Regions from separate parts of the Homo sapiens genome. Here regions 1 and 3 are each linked to region 2. The links are contacts of gene promoters, found by promoter capture Hi-C in human tissues and cell types (Jung and others, 2019). All regions are on one chromosome and are shown on one strand. Each heading gives the region's core, a stretch centred on a gene start or on the middle of the fragment in contact. The rest is flanking DNA. Distances are from core to core; before and after follow the strand shown. Region 1 holds the start of ARRDC2 (arrestin domain containing 2). Region 2 holds the start of BST2 (bone marrow stromal cell antigen 2). Region 3 holds the start of IL12RB1 (interleukin 12 receptor subunit beta 1).

Region 1 (3,114 bases), core at 603-3,102, 600 kb after region 2:
GCACTCCAGCCTGGGCACCATTGAGCACTGAGTTAACGAGACTCTGTCTGCAATCCCGGCACCTCGGGAGGCTGAGGCTGGTGGATCACTCGAGGTTAGGAGCTGGAGACCAGCCGGGCCAACACAGCGAAACCCCTTCTCCACCAAAAAAACCAGTCAGGCGTGGCGGCGCGCGCCTGCAATCGCAGGCACTCGGCAGGCTGAGACAGGAGAATCAGGCAGGGAGGTTGCAGTGAGCCGAGATGGCAGCAGCACAGTCCAGCTTCTGCTCGGCATGAGAGGGAGACCGTGGAAAGAGAGGGAGAGGGAGACCAAGGGGAGAGGGAGAGGGAGAGGGAGCTTAAAAATTGTTAAATTGTTATACATTTAAGGAAAAAACAGTGACACTGGAGGGGCGAGGCCAGTGGAGGTGCTGTGTGACCTCGGGCAGAGCCCCACCCATCTCTGGGCCTTTGGGGTCCGTCTGCGAAATGAATTGAGGGAGGCGCTGGCTCAGTAGTCCCTTCAGGGTTACCTAATCCCGCTTCTCCTCCCGGACTTAACGGCCTACTGTCTCCCCTCTAGTATCCATTGAAACCTGGCCTAAGGTCCCAGACCTTCCTTTCAACTCCAAAGACCCATCCTCCCAGGCAGCCTTCCAGGCTGATCACTGTGCCTCCAACTCCGTCGTTCCTGTTCCGATCCCCATCACGGGCTGAGGGTGACCGTGTTTGTTTATGACCGCCCCCTCCACCCACACACCTCACTGAGGTGGTGGAAGTCTCCTGAGCCAGGCTCAGAGGCGGACAGTCACGGCAGGGGATGGGTTCAGCGGCAGCGCATTACGCTGCCACGAGAGGGCGCCAGCGTCCCGCAGACGACGCAGAGGCAACTCCCGCTGGAGAAACTCCATGCGACTTTTCTTTGGGGAAACTGAAGCCCAGAGAGAGGTCACGCCGTCCCGTGGCCACACCGCAGCTGTGGACCTGGGGGTGCCCGAGCGTCCCCTGCATTCAGCTCTGTGGCGGGACGGGGGCTGAGGATGACTGGAGCAGGCACAAGGGCTGCGGGGAAGGTAGGGTTTGCCAGAGGCTGAAAATTGGGAAGGGAACATCATTTCGTAGGTACCGCTCCTGGGCGAATGCGCCGAGGCGCGACCGAGTGACGGTATGTCAAGAGCAGGTTGATGACCCGGGAGCGAGGCTCTTGGAGGAGTCCAGCTGGGGCTGCACGATGATCCATGCACAACCTTCTGAGGTCAGGACTGATTTTTACTTTCTCCCGGCTCTACAGAGGTGGAAACTGAGGCTCCAAGAGGTTGTCATTTGCCCAGAGCCACCAGCTAAGCGGGACTTGAATCAGGAAAGGGGTGCAGCAGGCACCAGTGTGGAGGGCGGTCCCACCCACCTCCTCCACTTCTCCCTTTGCATAGCGGGGGAAACAGGCCTGGAACAGTCATAGGCTCTCTGGCCCTCAACTGGGGCGAGAGTCCCCCGCCCCAAATCGGGCTGGACATGCCTCGAGTCACGTCAACGAGGGGCGGCTGGTGAGTGATTAAGCCGAGAGGCTGAAGGCTCTGCTAGGTGACCTCAGGCCTGGGCCCTGCCTCTGCACCTCTTTTTTTCCTCTTTACCCCCGGGGTCCGCGAGAGACCAGCTCTGGCAGCCTAAGGGCTTCAGTTTCTCCCCGGGGTCCGCGAGGGAAGGGGGCAGCCGGCGGTGAGCAGGGGCGTTTGTTATTTTGCTCCACGCCTGGGCAGAGCCACGCCCCTTGTCGCGCTATTGGTGGAGTCCCTTCCCGGGGCGGGGAAGAGACGGTGACCCCACCCCCCCCCGCCCTGCCGTATAAAAGCGGCGCCGACGCACGGCGCGGGGATTTTCTGCTCCGGTTGGTGAGCGCGCCTGCGCGTTGACGGCGATTTTGCGTTCTGAGGCTGCAGCGTCGGCATCTTGAGCTGCCGGTTCGCGAGTTCGAGGCCAGGTTCCGCCTGTCGTGGGTTCGCACCCCGGACGCGATGCTATTCGACAAGGTGAAAGCGTTCTCGGTGCAGTTGGACGGCGCGACCGCGGGCGTCGAGCCCGTGTTTAGCGGCGGCCAGGCCGTGGCGGGCCGGGTGCTGCTGGAGCTGTCAAGCGCCGCGCGTGTGGGTGCCCTGAGGCTGCGCGCGCGGGGCCGCGCCCACGTGCACTGGACCGAGTCGCGCAGCGCGGGCTCGAGCACGGCTTACACGCAGAGCTACAGTGAACGCGTGGAGGTCGTGAGCCACCGCGCCACGCTCCTGGCGCCAGGTACGGATGGAGGACCCCTGCTCCAACACCAGTTGTGTGCCTCCCACCACCTGGACGGCGGTACCTCCGTCAGCCCTGGGACCCCAGCGCAACCGCTCAGTCGCCTCCTTTTTCTCCTACCTGCAGATACCGGGGAGACCACGACGCTGCCTCCTGGGCGCCATGAGTTCCTGTTCAGCTTCCAGCTGCCCCCGTAAGTCCTCTGGGGTGCAGGGTTGCCCTAAGCCTGCAGCCCCTTCCAGATTGGTACCTCCAATACTGGATATCTGGGCACCTCTGAGCCCCAAGACTCTCCCCCTGGGAGGCCCCCGGAGTGTCTGTGTCTCCTTCTCCCTGCCTGCTTGTCTCTGTATCTTGTCCCCTGAAGTCCCGTCCCTCCACCCTAGGACCCTGGTGACATCCTTCGAGGGCAAACACGGTAGTGTCCGCTACTGTATCAAGGCCACCCTGCACCGGCCCTGGGTCCCAGCACGCCGGGCAAGGAAGGTGTTCACTGTCATCGAGCCTGTGGACATCAACACGCCAGCCCTGCTGGTGAGTGGCCACCCTTGGGGAGGTAGGTTGGGAGTATTGTAGGAAGGGGCCTGCCTGGCTGCTGGGCGACACCAACCAATAAGATGGAGGTCATAGGTGGGCCCTGGCAGGGAGGGAGGCAGGTGTGGGAATGCGTGTGGAATCCACTGGGATCTGCACCCATTTGCCGTGTGACTCTGGGCAAGTGTCTTGAAGCCCTCTCTGAGCCTCAGATGCCTCTTCTGTGAAATAGACCAGAGCTAGGGCTTACCAAGTGTGAATTACACACCAAACACTTGGCTTATACATTTCATTTCTGGCTTTATAAGATGGG
Region 2 (3,080 bases), core at 114-2,613:
AACCTCCCCCTTACCCCAACCTCCAGCCCTGGTCTCCCTGCCCCCACCCCCTCTTCCATACCTGACTCACCCCTCCCCGGCCCTCTCCCTTCTCCCTTTCTCACCCTCAAGCTCCTCCACTTTCTTTTGTCCTTGGGCCTTCTCTGCATCCAGGGAAGCCATTAGGGCCATCTAAGAAGAGTTAGAATCTGGGGTTTTGGCCTGGGGAGTTTGGCTGCTGCCCCTGGGACCTGGGCCTCCTCCCTAGGTCCTGGGGACAGAGGGGCTTAAATGCAAACCCCTTTCAGGTTTTCTTCCAACCCTCTCTGCACCATGGTCTCCAACCTTAAAGAACAGCCACAACCACACACTCTCCCAGGGCCACCCATAAGCATGTGGGTCCTCAAAATGGGAGTTTTGAGGCCACCCCACGTGGAAACTTGGAGGCTATCGATAACCAAAGTTTAGTGGACATTTCCAGATTGCCTGAGCAATGGCCCAAGAAAAGTTAGAGGGCCCTACCAAATCCAGAATGCAGTGGGATTTCCCCGCCCAAGTGACATGCCCAGCGAGAGTTTCAAGATCCCCCATATCAGGACCCAGGTGAATATTTCAGTTTCTTAGGGATGAAGTGAAAATTTCAAAAGCCCCCTTTTTCAGGGTCTGGTGAGGTCCCCCTTCAACCCTGAATAGGGATTTCTACTCCCCCAGGACTGGTGCCCACGAGGAGTTTCAAGGCCCCCGACACCAGTGCCCTGGAAAGAATTTATAAATTCACCTAAGTCCCAGGGGGATACTGAGGTCCCCGATTTGGGGGATCTGGAGAGTTTTAACACCCTGCCCCTACACCAGTGCCCTGGACTGGGTTAGGGGCCCACAAACCCTGGTAGGGGAACCTAGGTCCCTTGATGTGGGGGCCCAGGAGCAGTTTCAGGACCTCCCCTGCATCTCCCTGGAGACCCACCCTGGGTCAGATTTCTGGGGAGAGATTCTTGTCCCTCCCACCGCCTAGTACTAGGCCATCCAAAGGAGTTGAGGAGCTTACCACAGTGTGGTTGCAGGTGGCGGCCTGGGCCTCCACATCCTGAAAGCCCTTCTGGGCCTCGGTCAGCTCTTGTTGCAGGAGATGGGTGACATTGCGACACTCCATCACTGCCCGAAGGCCGTCCCGGCAGGCCTCGCTGTTGGCCTTGATGGTGAAGATAATCAAGGGCACCCCCAGAATCACGATGATCAGGAGCACCAGAATTCCTATCCCCAGCAGAAGCTTACAGCGCTTATCCCCGTCTTCCATGGGCACTCTGCAATAGTCATACGAAGTAGATGCCATCCAGATCTCCCCTTTAGAGTCTGGCCTGGAGTTAGGGGAGGGTGCTGGAATCTTCTACGGGCCACCCCTTTATTAGCATAGGAAACGTCCTGACCAATAGCAAGTTCCAGGAAGTGCTCTGACCAGCAGCTCTTGCATGAGGCACCTACAGGCAGAGGATTAATTAGGTTTTCAGTTTCAGTTTCCCAGAAAGGAGGTGGGCTTTTTTTTCACCCTGCTTTAAAAGCCCTTGGGCCCTTCCCAGCTGGGTGCCAGCCAACTGTGGCTGCCTGGGACACTCCATCTTAAGTCCCTGTGCCTCTGCTGTGTGTTACTGAGTGCCTAGGCCGTGCCAGCCTGTATTCATCTGTACTATGACCTGAAGAGGCAGAGGCCATCACTGTTGGTCCGGTCTCCACCTGGGGAAACTGAGGTTGCACAGTTGCGTGGTGGAGTGAGGGCAGGGCCTGGGTCTGGGGGCGGGGCCTGGGTCTGACCCCAGGGACTGGTTTTTGTGTTCAGGTGTCTCTGTGGTGACGAGCAGGGCTTCATCCAGTGCCTCTGTCCCCACCGAGGGGACTATGGGAGACATGGAGGGTGTGTGAGCAACAGGTGAGACTGGAGCCAGCTGAAAACTGGGAGACCGACCCAGCCAACAAACAATGTCGGTCTCTGTCTTGGCACCTGCAGGAAACAAGCTCCTACTTCCAGAAAAAGTGCTCCTGGGACTCCAGGATACCAGGTAAACTCTCTGAGCCTGTTTCTTCATCTGCAAAGGGGAATAACAGGGCCAGCCTCAGACACTGTCCATGTGGCCAAGAGAGCCAGGGCTTCCTACAGGAAATCAGGCCCATTATCGGCACCCAACTGCTGGGCATGACCGCTGAAAGGGGACTGCATGTTTTTCTTGTGGCTTCTTCAGCCACATCCTGACCACAGCCCAGATTCTGTTAGGTCTGCCATTTCCATGTTTTTTTTTCTTTTCAGCAGGGCCAGACAGTAGGCGAGGTCAAGTCCAGAGCCCAGGCCTCCCAGAAGGCCTGGGGAACTCCCCCCAGGCCCTGACTCCAACATCCCTCAGAAGGACCCCATTAAAGCCACTTAGAGCCAGGCATGGTGGTACATGCCTGTGGTCCCAGGCTGAGGCTGGGAGGCTGAGGCAGGAGGATCACTCGAGCCCAGGAGTTTGAGGCTGCAGCGAGCTATGATTGTGCCACGGCACTCAAGCCTGGGTGATAGAGTGGGATCCCATCTCTTAAACCAATAAACAAAAAAATCACTTAGAACCAAGAACCAATTAACAAGCTGTGGGAGATGATCTTGCTGAAAATTCTGAGGGTGAACTTGTCCCAGGAGGAGGGACCTACCAGCCTGGCCAGGACTCCAGGTGCAAAGACACGACCTTTGCCTGACTTATTTGACTAAGCTGACTTATTTGAGCAGCACTGTTCTGGCCTGCTAACTTTAGGGTTAGTTTGGGACCAGGTCGGAAATCACAATTGCATGAATTGCACATTGGAGGCCAGGGTGGTGCACCTCTGGGCAAATGAATTTCCTCTCTTAGCATTGATTTCCCCAGCTGTAAAATGTGGATAATAATAGATTGATGTCCTCTCTAAATTTTGCAGCTGTAAACAGTCCCAGCCCTGCAAACCGAAAGTTTGTTGCTCTTCCCTTTAAAATTACTGTAGGGACCAGCCCCACAGGGTCAGTGGGTCTCTCCCTGTGTGCGGCGACGAGAGAGTGTAGAAATAAAGACACAAGACGAAGAGATAAAAGAAAAGACAGCTGG
Region 3 (3,143 bases), core at 510-3,009, 680 kb after region 2:
AAGAAGGACCTGTCCTGAGCCCTGCAGGCAGATTGGAAGCCTTGGGGGAGAAGGCGGCACCCCAGGAAACAGCCCCAAGTGTCCAACCTTGAGGGGGGAAAGATGCTTAACACACAAGGCTCTCCATCCTTCCATCTCTCTCTGTGATGACACAGAACCCCCACCCACCCACCCACCCCTGAGAGCCTAAAGCCCATCCTCCTTCCCTTTCCCTGGACTGACCACTCACTGCCACTATCTCCAGGATACCTCGTGGGCTGCCTCTCGCCCCCTCCCTGCTGCTGGTCTCCAGCCATGCCTGGCCCCTGAAGGCGCTGGGACCTTGAGGTGTGGCCAGCACTGCTGTGGGCATTCTACAGGCACTCAGTGCATCTCAAGAGCCATTGAAAAAGTCAGCACCCCGCTGATCCCCAGTGTACAGAGAAGGAAAGTTTATTTATTATTATTATTATTGAGATAGAGTCTTGCTCTGCCACACAGGCTGGAATGCAGTGCTGCAATCTCGGCTCACTGCAACCTCTGCCTCCTGGGTTCAAGCGATCCTCCCACCTCAGCTCCTAAGTAGCTGGGAGTACAGGTGCCCATCATCAAGCCTGGCTAATTTTTGCATTTTTAGTAGAGATGGGGTTTCACCATGTTAGCCAGGCTGGTCTCGAACTCCTGACCTCAAGTGATCCACCCATCTTGGCCTCCCATAGTGCTGGATTTTCAGGAGTGAGTCACCGTGCAGGGCCTGAGATTATTAAAAGTATATGGGAAGGCTGGGCATGGTGGCTCATGCCTGTAATCTGAGCACTTTGGGAGGCCAAGGTGAGTGGATCATTTGAGCCCAGGAGTTCGAGACCAGCCTGGGCAACACAGCGAGACGCTGTCTCTGTAAAAAGTATACACCAAAAAAATTAACCAGGCATGGTAGTGTGCACCTGCAGTCCCAGCTACTCAAGGGGCTAAGGCAGGAGGATCACTTGAGCCCAGGTGGTCAAGGCTGCAATGAGTTATGATTAGGCCACTGCACTCCAGCCTGGGACACAGAGTGAGACCCTACCTCAGTAAATAAATAAATAAATAAATAAATAAATAAATAAATAAATAAATAAGTAAAGTATACGGAAGGATGTGCATAGGTTATATGCAAATACTTTACCATTTTATATCAGGAACTTGAGCATCTTTGGATTTTGGTATCTGCAGAGGGTCCTGGAACCATTGCCCCGTAAATATGGAAATGACTGTATACATTATATTATGTATGTCTATCTATTGTAAACTACATACATAAGATACTATACTATGTATACCTATTAGATACATACTTGCTTTTTATTCCTTCCTTAGTTTTTTTTCTCATTGAACTCCGGGAGGTGGAAAAAATTTAGTGCATTTCACAGAAGAGAAAATCTAGACCAGAGGAAAGATGTCTAAGTTCGATCCCAGAAGCCATGACTGCCCATCTCCCATTTGACAGCAGGAAAGACTGAGGCACAGAGAGATGAAACCAACCCACACAGCAGGCCCACAGCTCTCCACACATACACGTGCCTCCACCCAGCAAGAGGAGCCGCCATGCCAGGGTCAGGGGACTCACCGCCCTGCCTGGACAGCAGGAAGAGGAAGAGGAGGGGGACCACCCAGGTCACCAGCGGCTCCATCGGATCCACGTAGAGCCCCACAGCCCCAGGGGAGCCTCTCTGCCACCTGCGAGGTTCAGCCACCCCGTCCCCACTCCGGAACACATTGAAGCTGAGCAAGGAGAAAAGACTGAAAAAAAAGAAAAAAGAAAAAAAGTAAAGTGTCACAGCCCATCCCTAAGGCAAGTCAAAGTGAAAGAGAAACCCAGGAAGTCAGCTCCGTGGTGGTGGTGATGGTGGCGGCCACAGACTCTGGAGCAAGTCTGACTTTGGAGCAAGTCAGGGTTCTAGGGGGTTCTGCCCTGCTGGCCCCAGACCTGAACTGAACACCCAGATGCCAGCCCCATGGGCCCATGGGCCACCTGTGGTTCCATGCACTTGGCCAGGTCTCTGGCCCTCTCTAGCCAATTTTTTTTTTTTTTTTTGAGATGGAGCCCTGCTCTGTCGCCCGGGCTGGAGTGTGGTGGCATGATCTCCACTCACTGCAACTTCTGCCTCCCGGGTTCAAGCAATTCTCCTGCCTCAGCCTCCCGAGTAGCTGGAATTACAGGCAACTGCCACAACATCGAGCTAATTTTTGTATTTTTAGTAGAGACAGGGTTTCACCATGCTGGCCAGGCTGGTCTCGAACTCCTAACCCTAAGTGATCCACCCACCTCAGCCTCCCAAAGTGCTGGGATGACAGGCGTGAGCTACCGTGCCTGGCTGCCAAATTCTTTTTTTCTTCTTTTGAGATAGGGTCTTGATCTGTGGCCCAGCTGTAGTGCAGTGGTGCAATCACGGCTCACTGCAACATCAACCTCCCCAGGCTCAGGCCATCCTCCTACCTCAGCCTCCCCAGGAACTGGGACTACAGGCATGCACCACCACGCCCAGCTAATTTTTGCATTTTTTTTTTTTTAAGAGAGGGGGTTTTGCCATGTTGCCCAGGCTGGTCTCAAACTCCCGGGTTCAAATGATCCGTCCGCCTTGGCCTACCAAAATTCTGGGATCACAGGCGTGAGCCACCGCACCGGGCCATCTCGCCAGCTTCTGAATCTGAGACTCAAGAGCTGAAGGAGGGCAGTGTTCTTGGATGGCCTAATTTCATCCTTCCAACAAATTGTTACAAAGAGCTTGCAGCATGCTGGCCCTCCACAATGCCCACCTCCCCACATGCCAAGCTCCAGCCTTGTGCACCTGGGCTCACCCCTCTAATCCCAGCACTTTGAGAGGTCGAGGTGGGAGGATCACTTGACCCCAGGAGTTTGGGTCTACCTAAACAACATAGCAAGACCCCATCTCTATAAAAAATAAAGAATTAGGCCAGGCGCGGTGGCTCACGCCTGTAATCCCAGTACTTTGGGAGGCCAAGGCAGGTGGATCACGAGGTCAGGAGTTTGAGACCAGCCTGACCAAAATGGTGAAACCCTGTCTCTACTGAAAATACAAAAATTAACCGGGTGTGGTGGCAGGCACCTGTAATCCCAGCTACTGAGGAGGCTGAGGCAGGAGAATCGCTTGAACCCAGGAGGT

Evidence for each region. Contacts are between HindIII fragments. The study calls those that stand out against the background at their distance.
Region 1: the fragment with the promoter of ARRDC2 here is called in contact with the fragment with the promoter of BST2 in region 2 in 1 of the 25 tissues and cell types used here (heart right ventricle).
Region 3: the fragment with the promoter of IL12RB1 here is called in contact with the fragment with the promoter of BST2 in region 2 in 1 of the 25 tissues and cell types used here (stomach).

What each region holds. Positions count from the first base shown.
Region 1 is chr19:18,006,318-18,009,431 of GRCh38, forward strand. ARRDC2 (arrestin domain containing 2) reads left to right here and starts at 1,853. Exons shown (of 8, transcript NM_015683.2): 1 at 1,853-2,267; 2 at 2,394-2,460; 3 at 2,654-2,801. The coding sequence starts at 1,994. RefSeq lists an enhancer at 1,907-2,126. The HindIII fragment of the contact is 21,109 bases long and covers 1-3,038 here.
Region 2 is chr19:17,404,267-17,407,346 of GRCh38, forward strand. BST2 (bone marrow stromal cell antigen 2) reads right to left here and starts at 1,364. Exons shown (of 5, transcript NM_004335.4): 1 at 1,025-1,364; 2 at 105-171. The coding sequence starts at 1,309. BISPR (BST2 interferon stimulated positive regulator) reads left to right here and starts at 1,420. Exons shown (of 4, transcript NR_130766.1): 1 at 1,420-1,505; 2 at 1,811-2,030. It also overlaps a transcript of MVB12A not described here. RefSeq lists enhancers at 543-1,281, 1,266-1,325, 1,396-1,775, 1,966-2,025, 2,076-2,125 and 2 more. The HindIII fragment of the contact is 15,018 bases long and covers 572-3,080 here.
Region 3 is chr19:18,085,175-18,088,317 of GRCh38, forward strand. IL12RB1 (interleukin 12 receptor subunit beta 1) reads right to left here and starts at 1,760. Exons shown (of 17, transcript NM_005535.3): 1 at 1,586-1,760. The coding sequence starts at 1,649. RefSeq lists enhancers at 1,672-2,021, 2,032-2,091. The HindIII fragment of the contact is 62,137 bases long and covers 1-3,143 here.